Linked DNA regions of Homo sapiens: regions 1, 3 and 4 are each linked to region 2. The links are contacts of gene promoters, found by promoter capture Hi-C in blood cells and fetal thymus (Javierre and others, 2016). All regions are on one chromosome and are shown on one strand. The core of a region is centred on a gene start or on the middle of the fragment in contact, and the rest is flanking DNA. Distances in the headings are between cores, read along the strand shown.

The links. Contacts are between HindIII fragments. The CHiCAGO score rates a contact against its expected background, and 5 or more counts as called.
Region 1: a fragment that was not itself captured here is called in contact with the fragment with the promoter of ATP6V1G3 in region 2 in 1 of 17 cell types (activated CD4 T cells); the score reaches 5.4 in activated CD4 T cells.
Region 3: a contact is called between a fragment that was not itself captured here and the fragment with the promoter of ATP6V1G3 in region 2, in 1 of 17 cell types (naive CD8 T cells). The highest score is 5.9, in naive CD8 T cells.
Region 4: a contact is called between a fragment that was not itself captured here and the fragment with the promoter of ATP6V1G3 in region 2, in 1 of 17 cell types (non-activated CD4 T cells). The highest score is 6.5, in non-activated CD4 T cells.

Annotation. Positions count from the first base shown.
Region 1 is chr1:198,181,675-198,184,374 of GRCh38, forward strand. All of the region lies in intron 1 of NEK7 (NIMA related kinase 7), which reads left to right. Among named protein-coding and RNA genes, the nearest start is that of NEK7, 26 kb to the left of the region's middle. The HindIII fragment of the contact is 5,128 bases long and covers 1-2,700 here.
Region 2 is chr1:198,539,321-198,542,020 of GRCh38, forward strand. ATP6V1G3 (ATPase H+ transporting V1 subunit G3) reads right to left here and starts at 1,360. Exons shown (of 3, transcript NM_001376861.1): 1 at 1,249-1,360. The coding sequence starts at 1,330. The HindIII fragment of the contact is 10,140 bases long and covers 1-2,700 here.
Region 3 is chr1:198,087,388-198,090,087 of GRCh38, forward strand. No RefSeq gene overlaps it. Among named protein-coding and RNA genes, the nearest start is that of NEK7, 68 kb to the right of the region's middle. The HindIII fragment of the contact is 487 bases long and covers 1,031-1,517 here.
Region 4 is chr1:198,932,099-198,934,798 of GRCh38, forward strand. All of the region lies in intron 1 of MIR181A1HG (MIR181A1 host gene), which reads right to left. Among named protein-coding and RNA genes, the nearest start is that of MIR181A1HG, 4.0 kb to the right of the region's middle. The HindIII fragment of the contact is 5,909 bases long and covers 1-2,700 here.

The sequences.
Region 1 (2,700 bases), core at 146-2,645, 360 kb before region 2:
TAAATAAACAACAACAAAAATACAAACTTCTAAACTTGTAATGTTGTATGACTTTTAGATTTCATGTAGTGCCATTACTGAAGAAATGATTATTTGAAAAATTTCACTGGATGATGGACTAATCTATGAACCCAATTTAAAATGTGTTTTGTTAACATTTGACAGAGTAAAGCAAATCATTTCTTTAAAAATGACATGTGAGGGTAAGTGGTTGAATTGAAGGAGAAACTTCATTAAACTTTGTCAGTTAATGAAATGATTTCATTTGTTAGGATTCTGTTTTTTCTTGTTTTAATAGAAAAAAGTGATATATATATATAATTTTAAAATGGCTTTATATACTTGATATGTTCAAATATGCGTAGATATTTTCAGGTTTACCTCTGTTGATGGAAATAAAGAGTGAAATAATAAAAAAGGTAGGCAACAGGTAGAAGTGAATAGCAGGGCATCAGAATAATCATCTTCTCAATAGTTGGCTGTAATGAATATTTTTTACTTCAAGATGGTAAATCCAAGAAGAATTAGAGATGTGGATAATGATGGTCAGCTTTCAGTTAGAAAGGTGTTCTTGCACATACATTAATAATGTTTTCACCATTCTTAATTTGTCTCTTTCATTTAGATCATATATTAAATATTAAGTAGGTCGACCTATTTTGGCTTCTGTGTCTAAATGGACAAGGGTGTTTTAATCTCTTAGGCCTTGAACTGGAGAGAGGGAGAATGGATGTGAATAAAAGTGTGTGTATGTGTGTGCGCATGTGAGAGAGAGAGATAGAGCTTTCCTGTTACAGCCCAAAACCATGATTATGGTTCACAACCTGGGGTTGGTTTTCTGGTTTGTATTCTTGCTGCCAGGCCTGTGGCCATTGATTTCTACATGTATGAAAAGTAATTAATCTGGAAAAAAATGCAGGGATTTTGGAATTATTTTTTGGAAACATTACTTATGTATTCTGGATTTTAGAAACTGTTACTTTCAAACTCTTTGTTCTTTGTTTTATTACGTGCTAACCATCTACTTATAATTTTTACATACTTTAATGGCTCAGTAAAATATAGTACAACTGATTACAGTTATTTGTTGTACTCTGAGAAGGCTTATTATGGGAAAAAAAACTGTGTTGGATATAATGGGAGATTCAGAGGAATCTACTACAGACTTTGTTGTTATGGACTTCATAATCCCGATTGATAGTAGTCATTAACAATATAAGAAAGGCCCTTAGTGCCACTAGAGTATACCATAGTATAGGCCTTCTACAGGAAGGGGATGTCTCCTTTGGTTTGAATGAGAACTCATGGAAGCATAGGGATTTGTGCTTGGCTTTGAGAGGAGGCCATTGTGGTAGGTGAAATTATAATAGGATTTCTGAAACTCAAAAATGGGCCAGTTTGGCAGAAATAAGTGGGGCATGAGGTTCTGATTCATTCTCTTTATAGCTGCCAAAATGGTGGTATTTGTGAAATGAAAAATCAACCCTATAACTCCCATCTGGAAAACCCGTCTTTAGAGGTTACATTGGTAGCCTGAAACTTCAGATTTTTCTTGATTTTTCATGTGGCGATGTCTCTGGAAGATGTTTCGGAATACTACTACTTCCACTAGGCCATGAGCTCTTTAATGGAACCATTCTGAGTACCTGCCTGGTTCAAAGGAGGAGTTTAGTAAATTTCCGTTGAATAGATAGGGGCCTGTAATTCCAGGCTAAGGAATTTATTGTAAAGATTGTGAAGAATCATCAGAAATGTTTTTTTAAAAAAGAATGATACAGTGAAAGATACAATGAAGGAGGTATTCTAGGATGATTTAATTGCAGCCAATTGAGTATTATGCATGCTGACCCTCTAAATATTATACTTTGAAATGTTTCTGACTTATAGTAAATAAACATTTTAGTTAATAATGTCCTAAACATGTGTGTTAGTCAGTTGATACAACAAATGTTCAAATTTCTGCTGCTTTTTTTTTGGACTCTAAATTAGCATTTAGAGGCAGCTTTTTACCAATGTTTTTTAAGTTTATCAAGATGAAACAGGGTTAAGCAGGCATTATATTTTCATTCATTCAGCAAATATTTGCATGCCTGCTATGTGCCTATGGTGTTCTGAGCACTGGAAACACAGTGGTGATAAATATAGCATGTGACTCGAGACGTTTTTAATGGTCTAATGTCATTCATAATTCTGAAGTGGTTCAAGAAACAGGTGAAGAAAATGTAAAAACAATTTTTTTTCTTTCCTTTATTCCGTTTTATCCTAACAAATATTGTAAGTGGATATCTTGGAATGTAGGTGCCTACCCTGGGCTTACTTGAACATTATGTATGTTGGTGGTATCTGGTCCATTTAATAGTTGGATGTTTACTTAACAACAGCTTTCTTTAAAATGATTTTATAATGAGATTTGTACATGCCAGATTTTAGAATTTTTGAAGAATGTTTTGTTATTACTGCTGTATAGTGTGAAAATAGTAATTTTTCACACCATATTAGCTACCCTCGTAGTATGCAAGGATTTGACTTTATTCACTGGGCAATTTTCACAAATGACAAACACATTATAAATAAATGTATGGAATGTTTCACCTATTCAGACACAAGAATCCTTTATAACAATTGGTTTATGACTCAGTGCGATTTTTCTTGAAGGGGTAGATTTACAGTTCTAAATATTATCTCTTCAGTTGATTAGCT
Region 2 (2,700 bases), core at 110-2,609:
CAATCCCATCACTACATTCATCCAAAGAGTTACATAAGTAACATTTTGAAAATATGGCCCCTGTTTTGCCAGACTGAATCTAATTGCAGAGGCAGGACACACAAGGAGAGTGAATGACACTACAAATTATTGTAGATTGAATAATGAGGTGATATGAAATGGGATAGTGAAAAAAATGTCTTGGCCTTGGGAATCTGAATTCCAGTTGTAGATCTGAGACATATTAATTTTTTTATTATGCAAATTGTGTAAATTTTGTAAAGCACAGTGGTTAAGATCTGGGCTTGGAAATTATAGCTCATCTAAATCTTGTCTCTACCATTTACCCTCTGTGTGACCTTAGACAAGTTGTATAATTTCTCTAAGCATCACTTTTGCTTTTTCAGTAAAGGTTGTGAGGAATAAAGATAAGCAATGAGCATGGTGCCTGGCACAATATTTTCTATTTTTAAAATATAACCTTGAACAAATCAGTGACTCCATTTCTGCATACATTGGGAATAATGTTAATATCCTATTCATTTGGCTGTTGTATCAAAGAGAATAGAAAAGGTGTTGAAGTTCATTGAGGACATTCTATATGTAAGTACATGAATGCATGACCAAATGAAAAGAGAGCTGAGTACAGTGGCAAGTGCCTGTAGTCCCAGCTACTTGGCAGGCTGAGGCAGCAGGATCTCTTGAGTCCAGGAGTTGGAGTTCAGCCAGGGCAACATAGTGAGACCCTCATCTCTTAAAAAATAAATTAATAAAAATAAAAAGAGAGGTAGAAAATGAGAATAAAATGAAAATATTTTAAAATATTAGATGTTAAAAAGCTACCAAGAGAGGGATGAGAATGAGCCATTATTATTCTGATTTTATGGAAATGAAAACTGATGCTTATAAAAAATAAGTAATTTGCTCAGGTTTACTCACTAATAAGTAGATTCAATCCAGAGGTTTTCTACCCCCTAACAATGTTGAGAAAACAGGCATGGCATAGCCAAGGCTTAAGCCCACATCTCTATAATCTTAATGTCCATGAACACATGACCTCTCAAAAGGATCTGAATGAGGAAACTTCATCCCTGCTCTAGAAATAAGGAACATATGGCTGGGTAATTTTAATGAATGGGTGAAGGTCTCACAGGGAGTACAGTAAACCAAAGTTTGAAACAAGGTCTGCCTAATCCAAAAGTCTATGCTTATCCCTGCATTCCACTGCTTTGTTTATTTCGTGACAGACCCCTCACAGGTGAGACTTACTCTTCTTGGCTTCCTCTAGCTTGTCCTTGGCCCGTTTTTCTGCCTGAAGAAGCTGGTGGATCCCCTGAGACTGGCTTGTCATGGTAGTCTGCTCCAAGCAAGTGGCTTCTGTGAAATCTGGGAAGTAATGGGTTCATTTATTCTTTTAGAAATTAACATATAACTCAGATTATTGTGTCAACAGCAAGTTCCAAATGCAGCTGTTTCAAACTGGCTTTATTGGGCTGGATAGCTGGGTCCCAAGGAAAGCCCAAGGTGGAATCTAGAAAAACAAGTTAAACCAATGTGCATAAATTGAGAACTTACCATTTCTGCCAATCTTAGCTCTTCTGTATGAGATAAGGAGGTATAAATGAGGTGTTGCATCTACTTATAAATAATGAATAAGAGACCTTTTAAGAATGTTGGTTTCCCTAATCTTCCAAGAAACATTGACATGTTTACTGAGTTTTTCTTTTAAGTAACAAGATCTTTGCTCTTTGTACCTGCAGTACTTTGTTTCAGGTCTTTTTCTTTATTTGTTTCTAGTGATTCAGTTATCTGCTTGGAGAAAACGTGTTAATCTTTTGTTAGGAAAGAGATTCCCTAGCTTTGTGCATAGATGGTGGACTAAGGATTTTTTTCCCCCAAGGTCTCAGGTGACTGGAATAAAAAGATTTCTTTTGGGCATTGTGCTGCTCTTAAGTAATGCTGTAGGTTGAAGTTCCAGGAAGATCTTACTATGGTGACTAAACAATTAGTAATTTTAGTAGTAGTAATCATGATAGAAATAGACTATAACTGTAGGTTTTGGGATTAAGTTAAAATAATTTAAACATGCATTTTATATTATTCAGTGTTTGTGGTGAGTATTGTCCTAAGATAATACAATAAAATCCATCATACTTGATTTGATTCGATCCAGTAGCAATTGGACAAATCAGAATATTGGTCACAGAGAAGAACCACAAAGTATCATTTATATGTATCTAAAATTTTTATTTGAAGTGAAAAGCTAATCTGTTGACTTAGAATAAGGCTTTCCCCCCGATACGATTTGCAGATTGGGGTTTCACGTATTATTGCTTTCATAAACTATACCTCTATTGCCTCATATGTAAGTGCCAGGTTCATTTTCTTTAATAAGGTGTCTGGATTTAAAGACAATTGTAAAACAATCTGGGCACTAAATCTTTTAAGGCTTTAATGATTATTTTCTCCTAATCTTTTCAAGTTGTCTCATCCATATCTGCATGCCTACATTATGTGTGCATTTTCAGCAAATATTTTCAAAAGGAAAAACTTTTCCACAGGATCACTTTTACTTTTTTTTTTTTTTTTGAAGTCACATTTAATCAGCTTATAAAGTACTTAATTTGTATTGCGTAATTAAATACCTGGTGTAACTGGGATAAACCGATTTTCGAACAAGCACAACTCTTGTATGATCCCTCCAGACAAAAAGATACAAGG
Region 3 (2,700 bases), core at 24-2,523, 450 kb before region 2:
ATGGTGGTAGAGGTAGACAACACTCAATCATTGTATTAGTCTGTTCTCACACTGCTATAAAGATACTACCCAAGACAGTAATTTATGAAAGAAAGAAGTTTAATTGACTCACAGTTTTGCATGGCTGGAGAGAACTCAGGAAACTTACAATCATGGCAGAAGGCAAACAAGAAGCAAGTACCTTCTTCATAAGGTGGCTGGAAAGAGAAAGAGTGAAAAAGAAACTGCCAAACACTTATAAAACCATTAGATCTCGTGAGAACTCACTCACTACCAAGAGGACAGCATGTGAGAAACCACCTCCATGATCCAATCACTTCCCACCAGATCCCTCCCTCAACACATGAGGATTATGGGGATTACAATTCAAGATGAGATTTGGGTGGGGACACAGAGCCAAACCCTATCAATCATATATCTTTTTATTTGATTAGAAATGTGATAGGAATAGTAGATAGTACATGGTGCTATATAAAATAGGAACGTAGGAGTTAAGAGAAGGCTGCCTTGAGGAAGCAACAACTAAGATAAACTTGAAGGGTAAACAGGAATTATTAGAACAAAATGCCCAAAAGCATGTGGTCTGGGTCACTTTCCAGCTGGAATCAGTACAACAGGAGGCCAGAGAGTAGGGAGGCATGGAAGGTTAGGTTAACACAGGACAGTGCAGAGTTCAAAGTCTTGGAAATCCAATAGGCAAAATTCAAATCCCTGGCTCACCTTTGTACTAGCCTCTCTGAGCCTTTGTTTCTTTAACTCTCATAAATAAATAATACATAGTAAAATACATACTGAATAATATCTACCTATCAATGGTGTTGGGAGAATTAATTTCACAATTTTTCTACTACTAAGTTATGATTTCATCCACATACCAAGCCACTAATAATCCAGAACTCCTTAGGGCTATTTTTGGAGTTTTTAATGACTTATGCCTTAGTGCTGAAATTGTGGTATTAATTTCCTGTGTAATCGGGACTTTCATTAATAATGTCCATATGAATTCCATAGCACTTTTGATTTTAATCTAAGCTTCATAATCTGGAAAATATTTATCTCCTGCATTTTAGGAAATAATCAAATATGAAAACAGAAGTGTTTTGGAAGAAATGAATTGACTTTGTCACTAGGGGGAGACCTACCCAGGTTTTGAAACTTGCCCCAACTTTCAGAGTGGAGAGAATTTTTTTCTGAGAAGTGATGGTGTAGGAAAAGGCACTGAAAAACTTAGCAGTCCTAGCAGGAGGACTGGAGAGGTTCTCTCTCTCTTTTTCTTTTAGTGGCTTTTCACTGTGTTGTACGTGGTGGAGAATAAACTTTAGGGGATGCGATTAACAACATGCCCAAATGCTGAGGCAGTCAGCATGTTTGAATAAATGGTTTGAACATGGTTCTCTAGGCTGAATTTCTGGCAGTGTAGAGGCTTGGAAGCATCACGCAGGGGCAAGACTTCAGAGGGGAACCAGGCAAAAGAGAACTGAGTGGCCTGACCTGGCAGCCATCTGAGAGGGTATGTAAGCTTGATAAGCACCATATTTTCTCAGTGAACTTTTCAGTAACCATAGTCTGTGTGTATGCATATAAGTACTTTTTTCCACTGCACATTTTTCTAAGTACATTCCTCTGTAATCTTGAATCATAAGTGCTTCTGAAGGAGTAGGAGTAGTTTATCTTGACCATTCTGTAGAAGGAAAAAGTCTAGGAATTGTAGGAGGGGAAATAGCTCTCAAAGGAAATGCTCTACAAATTAATTACCTGAGGAACTAACTCACAGAGGGGTGCACTGACACAGGCTGTTACAATTATATTCAGTTAATTATACTTTATCAAAAAGAGATTCAAGCATTAGAATTTTGTTAATAGCAAATGATTTATCTTCTTAGTTCTCTTCAATCTATCAGTACATATATTTTATTTTATAGAGGATACTTGGAATGAAACTATAGACTTTTATTTTAAAAATTAAGAATTAATATAAACATGAAGTTAATATAATTGGTCACAAGGCTGTTTTTAAAAATTGTTTCAAGTATACAGTGGATATTAAATGATTCTAATTATATAATTTATAAACATCATTATAAGAGGTTAAACCTCTTACCAAGTGTGAATTTATATTTAACAAGTTGGCTATTGCCTTACTAAGCATACTTTCTTAATATGAGTTCCATTAATATAAACGTCAGAAGATTCAAATTTCATTAGGTATGGTTGAATTAGGTATCTCTAGAAAACTAATAGAAATACCTTAAAATAGTATTTATTTCTGATTATAAAGATGAATGTATAGTAGTGAAATTTAAAATCATCTATAATCTCTTTACTCAGTGAGAAACACTATTGACATGTTGAGTTATTTTATTCTAGCCTTTATTCCACACAATTTTATTACAAAAATTAAATCATGCTATATACATATTTCAAATTTTGATAATTTCTTTTTCCCAAATAACAATGCTGTGTTGTCTCCATAATCTTTCCATTCTACAAATGAAATATATTTTAATGCTCTCCTTTTAAGCACAAAAGCACTATCTACTGTTTTTTAAACAACATATTTATTTAACCTTTTCTCTTGTCATTAGAAGTCTTCATAAATATCATTTTAAAGGTTACAAGATACTTTATGAGATAGATGAATCACAATTCATTCTACAGTTTTATTATTAGATATTTAGTTGTTTCCAATAAATAACCCTG
Region 4 (2,700 bases), core at 163-2,662, 390 kb after region 2:
CCATTCTTTCATCTTAATTCAACCAATATTTTATTTTTTAACCAATAAAGTGCTTACTAGACAGTTGAAACTGTGTAAGCGAATAATAACTTAAAAGAATTACTTGTGATAAAATGATAGAAAAAGCCAACTCAAATAATTTTCATTGAAGACAAATCTTGCAGCTATATTAATATTAATAAAAATTAAATGCTTTTGATTAGTCTAGATTGGCTTGTAATGGTAAAACACAAAGACAAAACTGAGGCAGTGAGCCTCACAATGCCTCTACTGATTTCTCTACTGGCCCTTCCTCTGCACATGGTCAATTAGAATTGAAAATCCTGTGCTGATTTCATTCGCTGGAATTTTTAAGCAGGTCAGGAAGAAAGATGTTATTGAAAGGAAAAGTCTCATCTAAATAAGAAAGGAGCACGTGGCCATCTGGTCTTAGCTATACATATAAAAAGTTATTTCAGCTGAACTGCAGTCTTGATGTTTAAAAAGATGTGCCAGAAATCAAACCAAAATCTGTTTACGGTAAAATATCCCAAATGTTTCTTTTTAAACTTTCAAATATGCAATACACAGTTCATTTCCTATCTGTGATTCATGAGCCCATTTGACCCCAGCGCCTCACTGAGCTTGACTGAGTTTCACTCAGTAGAACATTCAATCATTTTTAGAACACTTTTCCTTCATAGAGTGTCAACAAGACAGTGGATCTTTTGAAAATTGTGAAAATAACTTTGATAGTTTTCACTCAAATTAATTTTGAGTATTGTCGTCATGTAGGATTGCAAGAATAAAATTTGAAACATAAAGCAGCCAAACCAGTTTCCCTTGTTTTCTCATCGCAACTTGAGGTTCCTGTGCATTCTCTGCACAGTGCTCAGGTATCTACTCACAATAATTTCAGGCCCTATGCCTAAAGGCTAAGTTAAAAAAAATTCTCTTTTCATGAAGAGAAATTTTAAGTGTTGAGTCTTCTTTTGCAAATCATTTTCATGGTAGTAAGAAACAGAGATGGTTTTAAAAATCACATTTTATACTGTTTGTCAAATTAGAGTCATATCTTTTGATATTCTTCTTTGACATGAGGTATTTGTGGTAATTATAACATCAATACATTAATTCATCCAATATCTGATAATGCCCTTCTGGTAGTATAGACATAGCTAGTTGATATCGCAATCTGAATTTTATTGTATTGAAGTACATTAGTAGTCTTCAAGAACTCTTATTATAAAGTGACAACAATTATTTGGGGTCAGAAGACTATATTCAAATACATTATATATATATATACATATATATATATACTAAATATGCTACATGCATGTAAGAGACATACATGATCATAATATCAGCACATGCTAAACAACGATGTAGATTTAAGCTAAGTCTTCAGATAAATACTTGGATTAAAATATTCTAATATATGAAACAAAAGCCTCTTGACATATCTTTGACATAAAATGCCCACTGGTTGTTTTTGTATATCTACTATGTTTGTTCTGCCATTTCAAATAAATCATTGCCATTGTGTAAGAAGAATAAACTGTACTATAGTAAATTGTTCTTTCTCCGTTATGCTCTGAAAAACCATTTGTTCTTGAATTGGCGTTACGTAGTTCAACTATTTCAATCAAGTCCATTATCTTCTTGTCTTTGAAAGATGCCTTTTCAGTAACCTGTACCCAATGGGCAATGTCATGTATTGTTTTTTGAAAGTAGGTAAAATTTAAACACAACTATTTGCCCATTTTAATCTTTGATAAGGAAATTATATAATTAATCATCAATCTTCCACTATATGTTGGAAGAACTGTTTATGTCAAAATTACAGAGTTAGGCCAAGAATTTCTTAACGAAGTTATTTATTAGTTCATAGTGGAGTCTTACCCTATAGACTGTCATCTAACTTGTGTAGCTTGTTTTCTCTAAGTACAAAATGTGTCAATTCTTTAGCTACATACTTTTCTTAACAATAGTAACATGAAAGCAGAAAAAGAACAAAACATTTTTTCATTTGTTTTAAAACAGTCACAAAATACATTGGCAAAATGAATCTTATTAATTTGTTGACATATACGTAGTGCTGTTTATACATATATGCTTTGAAATTCCTTTCAGATTAATTGCTTTTTAGTACGCAAGAATGAAGAAGTATTAAGAGCAAATTCCAAAATTTTAAAACTCATGTATCAGATACGTGGTATGTAAAAACTGGTAAGTATAGCAGTCATTCTATTCTAATGAAGATTAATTTAAATTACACATCAAAACTTGGTAGTTAAGGGGTAGAATGTATACAGAGTTGTTCTATATCTACCTCTCAAATCTGGCAATATGTTTTGGTAAAAGTATTAAACTTTATTGGAGTGAAATAAAATAATGTACTGAAATGTGTGCATTAATAAAAATCTGAGCACATGTTTGGTGAGTAACTATCCAGTATAAGACCCATAAAACAGACTTGAAAATAAATACAAACCCTGAACTAGCTCACACGAAAGTTAATTCAACTACTATCTAATCCATAGATATACCCTTATAAAAGCACATGAGAGAGCATTACTTCTAAATCATTGGTACAAAACTGTTCTCTCCTAAAGAAATAAGTTAAAAGTAAAAAGGATTTAATTGTTACAAAATGTTAAGTGGCGAATAAAAAACACCAAGTCATAATAAATTGAAGTATTGTAGCATTTTTATCCA